2 separate regions of the Homo sapiens genome follow, and region 1 is linked to region 2. Evidence: promoter capture Hi-C in human tissues and cell types (Jung and others, 2019). All regions are on one chromosome and are shown on one strand. The core of a region is centred on a gene start or on the middle of the fragment in contact, and the rest is flanking DNA. Distances in the headings are between cores, read along the strand shown. Region 1 holds the start of SLC25A47 (solute carrier family 25 member 47). Region 2 holds the start of CYP46A1 (cytochrome P450 family 46 subfamily A member 1).

Region 1 (4,792 bases), core at 552-3,051, 640 kb after region 2:
CAAACTCCCTCAGCACCCAAGGTACTGGCTTCTTGAGTGCAGCATCAGCAATCAAACCCAAGTCTCAGCTGTATTTGCCCTGCCCAGAACAGGCCAGCCACCTCCTTCCTTCCAGACTCTATGCTTCTGTTAATGCAGCATTAGCATTTAGCTGGCCACTCTCACAGGGACACGCCCGGACTTTGCCCTGCGTGGTCGCAGATATGAGGCAGGTACTCTCTTCATTTCATGGATGCAGAAGCTGAGGCACAGAGTGGTCAAGGGGCTGGCCCACGGTCTCAGCTGTGAGTGGCAGAGCTGGGCTTTAAAGGCAGGCAGCCAGCTTCTAACCAGATGCTAAGCTTCATCCCCTTGAGGGCCAGGACTAGCATTGGGACTGGCCTTGGATGGGCCACTTCCCGCCCTTTGCCCTCTGCCGTGGCAGCTGGCACTGCTCATCCTGTGTCTCCCACTTGCCTATAAATAGCCGGGCTGGCAGGGGGGCTGTCCCTCCATCAGCTCTCAGCCTGCTCAAGGCCAGCCTGCAGGTCCAGCCATTAGAGGACAGGAAAACAGGTAGACAAAGAGCCTCCTGGCCTTGCCACCTGTCCCGAGGGCTGCCCAGATGGGCTGCCTGGGCCTCATGCATCAACACCTGCCCCTCCCCTATCCTGCTGGCATTCCAGTCTGTGGGGCACTCACTTAGATTCTGTTGCTCAGCAGCTGTGTGGCCGAGGTACCTGCACAGCCTCCCTGAGCCTTGGTGTCTCACGTGGAGATCTCACAAGGATGCAGTGCAGGTCACATGGGGCATGCACTGAGTCCCCTTGAGAGCCCTCTGGGGCCTCCCCAGGCGGGCCTGGATATCCCAGAGGGTGGGTTGTATGAGAGCATCTGGGGATCACATCCAGCCCTGCCGCCCTCGTGGCCTTGGACAAGCCCCCTTTCTGGGCCTCAATGGCCCCATCTGTGAAATGGGGAGCACTAACGCTGCGCTGTCTCCCTCCTGGGGCGGTGAGGAGGATCCTAGAGCCTGAGAGTGAGGGGAGCTTGGTGAACTGTAAGGTGGGGTGCACGGGCAAGGAGGTCCCTGTTTTTACAGTGCCCAGCAGACAGAAGTAGCGTCTTAGTGGAGAGGTTTCCCCTTCAGGAGGGCCCCAGCCGCTGGTTCAGAGGCTGAATCGGCAGCCTCTGTCCCTGGTTCATGTGGGCAGGGGGACTTGGTGGAGGCAGCCTTGGCCTTCGCCTCTGGGTCCAGGGAGACACATTCCCATGGAGCAGAGAGCAGGGAACCGGGGCAGCGGGAAGGGTGAGAGCAGATGGTGGGTGCTGTTCCTGGGTTCAGGCCTGTCCTTGCCACCCCCTCCCTCCCTGCCAACTGGAGCTCCTTGAGGACAGGGACTGGCTCTCATTTGCCTGGGTGTAGCATCAGCAAAGTAAGTGTTTTTTGAGTGAGTAAGAGAGGGAGCTTTGCAGGTTTCCCAGGCAGGGGTCCTGAGCAAATCCAGGGGAGTCGGGAAAGCCCAGGGGACACAGTGAAGGCCTGGGCTTGGACCTGGAGGGCGAGAGCTGTCACAGCCCCATCTCTGGACCTTCCCAGGAGGTGTTTGGATGTGATGGGGCAGTGCCCCTGCTCTCTGGTGCCTGTCACCTCCCGTGCTCTCTCCTGTGTTTTCCTGACACCTGGGTCCCGAGGGCACTGGGACAAGGGTCCCGGGGGCAGGGAGGGAGTCCAGCTGTGTGCCGCGTGGCCTCAGCAGGCTCTGCTTCCGGTCCCCTCCCCTGCCGCAGGTATTTAAGGTCTGAGAGGGGCCAGCTGGGAGCTGTTGAGGCCACCCTGGTGGCACCAAAGCCCTCTCAGGCAGGCAGACCCAGGGCCTCCCCGCCACACCTTGTTCATGGATTTTGTCGCTGGAGCCATCGGAGGTAACAGACAGGATGGTGGGCTGTGCAGACACTGCTGCTCCTGGGGGTAGCAGGAGGAACTGAGGTCCAGGAAGGTGCTGGGCAGCAGGGTGGGCTTTGAGGAGCCCCTCACCCCCCAGGATCTGCCAGGAGCAGAGAGCAGGTTCCTGGGAGGCTAAGGCTGGGTGAGGGGTGCTGCAGGGCCTGGGGGGCTGCACTGGCCTGGGAGGCTCAGACAGGAGGCTGAGGGCAGGCTGGGGATGGGGCTGTGGTCTAGGCATGGGGGCCGCTCGGGAGGCAGAGTCAGGGAGGCTGGGAGTCCTTGGTGTGGGGAGGGGTGATTGAGTCACTGGAAGGGAAAGAAGACCCCAGGAGAGGATCGAGAGGGTGGGGAGATGGGTAGGGAAGATGGGCCTGGTCCTGCAGCAGGGACTGGAAGGGGCGGGCAGAGGACGGTAAGGGGCCTGGCGAGGTGGCTCCACCTGCCCTGCTGGGTGTGTGCACCTGGCTAGGCCTCCAGAGCCTGCTTCTCAGGCCAGACTCTGCTGGAGAAACCGTTCTCCCTCCTGGGGAAGGGCTCCTGGTGAAAGACTGATTCAGGGAGATAACCAGGCCCTGGGACACGGGCTCAGCTCCATCCCGTGGGCTGTGGGGGCTGTTCTGAGTGGGCACTCCTGCCCTTGCTGGTCTTGTGAAACATCGGTGGGTGGCGTCAGTACTTCTGGAAACAGCATGGGGGTTGGGAGAGCGGCCCAGCTCTGGCCCTGGGAGAAGGCAGAGTACCTGCCCCATTAACAGGCTTTTTCTTTTTTTTTTCCCTTGAGATGGAGTCTTGTTCTGTCGCCTAGGCTGAAATGCACTGGCGTGATCTTGGCTCACTGCAACCTCTGCCTCCTGGGTTCAAGTGATTCTCCTGCCTCAGCCGCCCAAGTAGCTGGGATTACAGACATGCACCACAATGTCTGGCTAATTTTTGGGTTTTTAGTAGAGGCAGGGTTTTACCATGTTGGTCAGGCTGGTCTCAAACTCCTGACCTCAAGCGATCCGCACGCCTCAGCCTCCCAAAGTGCTGGGATTACAGGCGTGAGCCACTGCGCCCGGCCTCCATTAGCAGCCTTTCTCAGCCCCAGCTAGGTGCCAGCCTGGGGCCAGCCGCTCCCTTCCTCAGGGAAGCTACTGGACTTGCCTGACATCACACAGCTGGAAAGGGCTCCTGAGTCTGGCATCTTTCCTCCGGAGCCATGAGGAGGCCTAGGTAAAGGGCTCTCACTCTGTGCCTGGCCCTGGGTCATGGGGTGTCAGCCCTCGGCCGTGTCCTTGGAGAACTCCAGTTCTGGAGGTGGCGGTGGCATACAACAGCAAGGCCATATGACAAGGGCTCTGCTCAACATGTTCCAGGCACAGAGGCAGCCCAGAGTACAGAGGCCAGAGAGGGCTCCAGAGAGGAGGTAGTGTCGTGGCAGGGCTTTGATGGATGAGTAGGAGCCTGGTGAGGTGTGTGAGGTGTATGGGAGGGTTAAGAAGGGTCGTTCTCTCCAAGCCACTTGGTCTTTTGCCTTACATTTATTCACTTCATTCTTTCATCCCACATATTTACTGAGTCCTGGGCTACAGTGAATAGGGTACAGTCCCCATGTGCCTATTTTCTTCCATTGGCCTTTACCACCTCCCCTCAGGGGAGAGAATGGTCCTCCCAGGGACCACCCTGTTTCCCCTCTGACTTCCCTGTGGCAGTGCTGGGGCTTGGATGTTGAGGCCTGGCACCCGAGGCCTCTCTGCAAGGTGTGGACTCCCGGCCCTCTCTCTTCCACACACGCTTGTGGTTCCAGGCAGTCCTGGCTCTTCACGAACCCCGGTGTGGGCTTCGGCTTCCCTCCTCCTGGCCTTTGCCCAGGCTGTGCCTCCCCCTCCTTCCACCCACGCAGCCAAAACACAGTTACCGCCTGGCTCACAGGCAAACCCTCCATGGGCTGACGGCTTGAGGGCAAGGTCTGCCTGGCTCAGAGACAGGGCCCAGCTAGGGTAGGATCAAACGTTCTCTCAGAGCATGACGCCCGTGGGGAGGCCGGGGCATGTCGGCATGTCTTTGGCCCAAGGCAGCGAGGACGAGGCAGTCCCGGGCCAGGACTCAGGGAAGGGGAACTTGCTTGCAAAGGGTAGAAGACACTCGGAGGCTCAATTTCCTCATCTCTAAAACGGGGGTGCCCTCAGGATTGATGAGACCTGGTGCAGACCAGAAGGGCCAAATGTGGGTCTGCCCTTGGGGGAGCCCAGTCAGCGTGCGCTCTGCTTCTGCTTCCCTGCAATGGGGTTGAACTGCTCGCCGGCCCCACTCTCCTCACCGTGGGCCTCTTCTTTCCTTGCAGGCGTCTGCGGTGTTGCTGTGGGCTACCCCCTGGACACGGTGAAGGTGCGGCAATAGCCAGCCCCCCAACCATCCTAAGGCCCCTGCACCTGTCCACGGCCAGGAGACTTTTCTAGAATGCTAAACAGACCCACCCCTTTCCTACCCAAATGCCTTCAATGGCTCCCCATAGCCCCTGGGACTATGTCAGTCCCACTTTCTCACCCCTGTGCCCCAGGTTTCTCGTCTAACACAAGGCTCCCTGTCCCTGCTGTGCCACCGTCCAGCATGGCTGGGACAATCAAGAGTGTGACTCTGCCCCTTCCCCAGGGCCTGCTGGCCTTGCCCTAGGCCTGGAGCCGCTCGTGCCTGAAGCCCACTTCTCCTGCAGGTCAGGATCCAGACGGAGCCAAAGTACACAGGCATCTGGCACTGCGTCCGGGATACGTATCACCGAGAGCGCGTAGGTCTGGGGCCAGGGGCTGGGTAGGGAGACAGGGAGGGGATGCTGGGCCTGCCTCCGCTGCCCAGCAGGTGATGCCAGGCTCCCCGCTGGGTCTCAGC
Region 2 (4,937 bases), core at 1,444-3,943:
CCCCCAACGAGGAATGTCAAGTGGCCATCAGATGATGGTCAGGCAGTTGATAAACTGCTTCTCTCAAATAATAATTGGTCGCAGCCAGTGCCAGGGAGAGGCAGTCTCCCAACAGATGGAAACACCTGAAGCTGGTGATCAGCTTCCCGATAAGATCTCAGGAGCTGGGCGAGTGGGCTCAAGCATGCACACTAAGAGGCAAAATGGCAGCGATTAACTGGTAGATGACCTTCCTCTAGGAACACCGGTAAGGGAAAAACACCTCAAATGAGCGCGCACATAACTTCAGTAAACACAGCTGTGCATTCGGCCCCTCCCAGGTGCTGACAGGCCACCGCGCACGCAGACAGCCCGCCCCAAGGGAAGAATCAGGGGCGAAGAGAGATGCAACCCCCCGGGAGCATGCCAACCTACAAAACCCCGAGTCAAAGGTCAAGCCACACACTTGCCTCTCTCAAGTCACCTGCTTGGCCCTCTTCTAAGTATACTTTACTTCCTTTCATGCCTACTCCAAAACTTTTTTTTTTTTTTTTTTTTTTTTTTTTTCTGAGACGGAGTCTCGCTCTGTCACCCAGGCTGGAGTGCAGTGGCGCAATCTCGGCTCACTGCAAGCTCCGCCTCCCGGGTTCACGCCATTCTCCTGCCTCAGCCTCCCCAGTAGCTGGGACTACAGGCGCCCGCCACCACGCCCAGCTAATTTTTTGTATTTTTAGTAGAGATGGGGTTTCTCCGTGTTAGCCAGGATGGTCTCGATCTCCTGACCTCGTGATCCGCCCGCCTCGGCCTCCCAAAGTGCTGGGATTACAGGCGTGAGCCACTGCGCCCGGCCTCTAAAACTTTTAAATACATTTTCACTCCTGCTCTAAAACTTGCCTCTCACTCTGCCTTACGCCCCTCAGTCGAATTCTTTCTTCTGAGGAGGCAAGAACTGAGGCTGCTGCAGACCCATATGGATTTGCTGTTGCTAACAGTACCATTGTTCCAGGGGTCTGGAGAGACAAGGCAAGAGAAAGTCCTCTTCAGACAGTGCGATGCACTGTGTAATCTCAGGGAGCCGTTCCACAAACTGGATACTAAATGTGATGCCGTCACATTTCTTTTCTAGCTAACCACCCCAACCCACCTTCCAGTGCGCAGGAATCCACACCCTCCTTCTTGCAGCCTCATCCTCCCTCCAAATTGCCCTCAAGCCCCGGAGCTTTCACAGCCCACAGGGGACCTGGTGGCTCCGTTCCACACCTCACCCCAGCAGGGCCAGCCTGAGTTACCCTGTGGGCCTGCGGCTGCCTGTCACCGCCGCCACACGGGGGCGCCATAGCAAGCCAACATCCCCGAGTCCAACTGGGCGGCCGGGCCAGGCGCCGGGGGGATGGATGCTCTGCTGCCCACCTGTCCAGGCTGCGGTGGCCCCGAGGGCAGAAGTCCCGCCTCCTCCGTGCTGGGCACGGCTCTTAAGACTTGGCCGTCTCCGTCGCCCCTCAGCCCACACCCCTAACAGCCATGTCCCATGTCCCTAACTATACCTGGGAAGGCGGTACCAAGGTCCCCTTCGTTTTCCAACCCCCAACCTCTCCAGGACTGGCTCAAGCGTGGGGCAGGGGCATTGCCTCTTCTCAGAAACCCAGCAGCATCTACACTCCCTGGGCCTCTACCTCCAGCCCGGGGGACCTTTACCTGGGCTAGGAGTGGGCACACCTGGCCTTCCCCTGCCACGACTTTCACGCTGGGTGGTCCCTCGGGATAGGAATTGGGAACTAAAACGCCCAGAATTGGCCTCATCTTCATACGGGATGGGCAAGGAGACGCGGGTTACGACAGAGGGGGAAGCCCTGGTCATTATTTCGAAAATACCTTCTCCTCCGCTACCCCCGCCTCCCCGGCACATTTCCCGCTTTCCCTGGAGGGCGGACCCAGATTTTCATCCCTCCAACTCCAACTCCTTCGGGCCTGAGCCAGCGCCTCAGATGGGGCTTCGCCTGGTCTAGGAGGGTCCGCAGGCCCCCGAGTCTCTGGGAGAACAGCCTCCGGCCACGCCGTGCGCTCTCGGTCGCAGACACAGGCGTCCCTGGGTCCCGCAGGATCCTGCCACCAGCCCGCGGGCCCCGCTGGCGGACCACGGGCGCTAGGCGTGGACTGTCCGGGCGGAGGAGGCGCCCCGGGGCAACTGGAGAACAACTTTGGGGGTCTGGGGTTCCAAGGAGAAGTTTGGGAACAGTCGGCGTTATGCGGACTTTTGCAGGCTGGGATGGGGTTTCCGGGCAGGTTTGGGGGAAAAAGGAAGGGGCCTAAGACCGCGCGCGGAAAGATGCCGTTATTTGGAGGCGCCGAAGCGGGCGGAGCCAGCCAGCAGGACTTCGCGCCGCCGCCGGGCCAGAGCGCTGAGGATCGGCGTTGCCAGGGACAACGCGTTCTGGGCGGAGCTGCTGCTGGGGCGGACCTGAGTCTGAAGAGGTGGGGGCGGAGCCTGGGGGGCTGAGCCAGAAGCGGAGTTGTGATTGGTGAAGACCACATGCTCGGGGTGGGGCCTGGGCTGGGGCGGTGTGGAGGTTGGGGCGGAGCTCTGGGGGGCGGGGCGGGGCGGGGGAGGGCCCGGAGCGCCGGAGCCGGAGGCGGAGACGTGGTTGGCGGGGACTGTGCGCCCTGGGAGGGGTCGGAGTCGGCGGGGGCGGAGCCGAGCGGGCGGGGAGGGTGCTGGGTCGCGCCTGGCCTGGGGCCGAGGCGGCGCGCGGCGCTGACAGCTGAGTCGGCTCGCGGCCTCCCGGCCCCCTCGGCGCCCGGCCCGACCCTGGCCTGGCCTGCCCTGCCCCGGAGCCATGAGCCCCGGGCTGCTGCTGCTCGGCAGCGCCGTCCTGCTCGCCTTCGGCCTCTGCTGCACCTTCGTGCACCGCGCTCGCAGCCGCTACGAGCACATCCCCGGGCCGCCGCGGCCCAGGTGAGCGGGGCTGGGGGCGGGGCCTGGCTGGGGTGCTGGGACTGGGGGCCTGGGGACAGCGTCTAAGCCGGCGTCCAGGCCGGGGGTCCGGCCTCGCCTAGTGCGCGCGGCCGCTGGGAGTCGGCGGCCCCGAGAGGGGCGCTAACTATTCTTAGTAACAAATTACTCACAGCCGCAGCAGCTGCTGGGCGCCCACCGCGCACAGCTGGGCCCCACAAACGTGATGGCAGCCACAGCCCTTTCAGGTAGGCGCTATTGTTAACCCATCGTTCAGACGAGGAGACTGAGGCGCTCAGAGGCGAAGTCACCTGCCCAAGGTCACACGGTTGGTAAGCCTAGATTTAAGCCCAGGTCAGCCTGCCTCCAAAGTGGGCGCTGTTAACTTTGGGACTTGGACAGGGTCAGCCTGGATTGGAGCACGCTGTACTTCAGTCATGTTTCCTTTTGCTTGTATTTCTGTTCTGGGACACCCCATTTGTCTTCTCCTTAGTACTTACAATTGCATTCTTGGTCCCCACCCCCACGCAACTTACACCCCCCTCAACTTGCCAACCCCCCCCCACCCCCAGCTTAGCTTTGTGAAGCTTAAATTAAATGTGTCATTTCCCTGCTCCAAGGGCTTCCCATCACTTGACAACTAAATGCAGTTCTAAATTAAGTCGGCTGCATGGCCCGCGAGGCCCCTGCCGAGCACTCAGAACCCACTCTGCAGCTTGCTCTTTCCTCTTGCTTTCTCACTACTGCCCCCAGCCTTTCTTCTCCCAGCCTCCCCCTCCCCCCGCCCCCCCCGCAGCTTCCCTCCCCCCGGGTCCTTTTCTCAAGCCTGGGCCTGGCGGGCTTCTTCCTCTGCTTGTCTCAAACAGGCCTTGCCCAGCACCTTGTGTAAAGACCACCCAGCCCCAGACTTCTCAGGGGCCATCACCTCTGAGGTTACCTTCTTTCCACCTGTTGACTGTCTGTTCACCTGTTGACTGTCTCCCCCTCTAGAATGTGAGCCCCGGGAGGACAGGGACACTCTGTGTTCGCTTGTGTATCCCCAGTGCCTGGCGTGTTGCAGATCTCAATAAATATTTGTTGAATGAATGAATAAACAATTGTATTAGACACACTTTTTAAAATCTCAGGACATGAATATTCTGGAAGGCACCCATCTCCAGCACAAGCCAGATGTACTGGCGTTAGAAGCCTGAATCTCTGCTTGATGGGTTCAGGAAAGATCTCTGTGGCTGGTGACATAGGGAGGCACCTGTTCTCCCTGCTGGCTCTCTGCCCTTCTGGTGCTCTCTCTCTCTCTCCTTGCTTAGCTCCTCTGCCTTCTACTTTACCTGGATGCTTCTTCCCCCAGCCTTCCAGGTTTGGCTTCAATGCTAACTCCTCAGGGAGGTTCCTCCTGCTCCCCCAAAAATATTATGTTCATTTTATAAACCCTGAAATCACTGTAATTTTCCTTTACAGCATAATGTTAATTGGGCAATTATTTGTGCAAGTTTTTCCTAAGTGTCTCTTTTCCATGGGCCCCCTGTCTGTCTCAGTCACTGCTGCATCTCCGACATGTAGCAGCACATTGTACATGCATAGTAGACACTCTATGAATAGCAATTCAAGGTTGAATGGTGGAAATCTCCCGTGAGTTCCGTGGTGGACACTATCACCCTCTCAAGTTTTCAGAGAAGCCATCAGCACTTAGAATTGAATGAGTTTGGTGCTTGTTCTGATAAGTTTCATCGTTACTTGGTCTTCTCATAAACTCAAATGACCTGTTCTGGTCTCTGTGTCTTGAGAAAGCAGAATTTAAATCATCTTAAAAAAAATTGAAATGTAACTTGCATTCCACAAAATGTATTCTTTAGTGTATGATTCAGTGGTTTTTGGTACATTCACAGCACTGTGCAGCCATCGCCACCGATTTCAGAACTGTTTTGTCACCCCAGAAAGAAACCCCGTACCCATTAGCCATCACTCCTCATTTTCTCCCACCCCTCACAGCCCTGGCAACCATGAATCT

What was found. Contacts are between HindIII fragments. The study calls those that stand out against the background at their distance.
Region 1: a contact is called between the fragment with the promoter of SLC25A47 here and the fragment with the promoter of CYP46A1 in region 2, in 1 of the 25 tissues and cell types used here (adrenal gland).

What each region holds. Positions count from the first base shown.
Region 1 is chr14:100,321,538-100,326,329 of GRCh38, forward strand. It overlaps SLC25A47 (solute carrier family 25 member 47), which reads left to right and starts at 1,802. Exons shown (of 6, transcript NM_207117.4): 1 at 1,802-1,905; 2 at 4,251-4,294; 3 at 4,620-4,691. The coding sequence starts at 1,878. The HindIII fragment of the contact is 19,339 bases long and covers 1-4,792 here.
Region 2 is chr14:99,681,605-99,686,541 of GRCh38, forward strand. It overlaps CYP46A1 (cytochrome P450 family 46 subfamily A member 1), which reads left to right and starts at 2,694. Exons shown (of 15, transcript NM_006668.2): 1 at 2,694-2,932. The coding sequence starts at 2,814. RefSeq lists an enhancer at 1,189-1,258 and a silencer at 2,499-3,078. The HindIII fragment of the contact is 8,159 bases long and covers 1-4,937 here.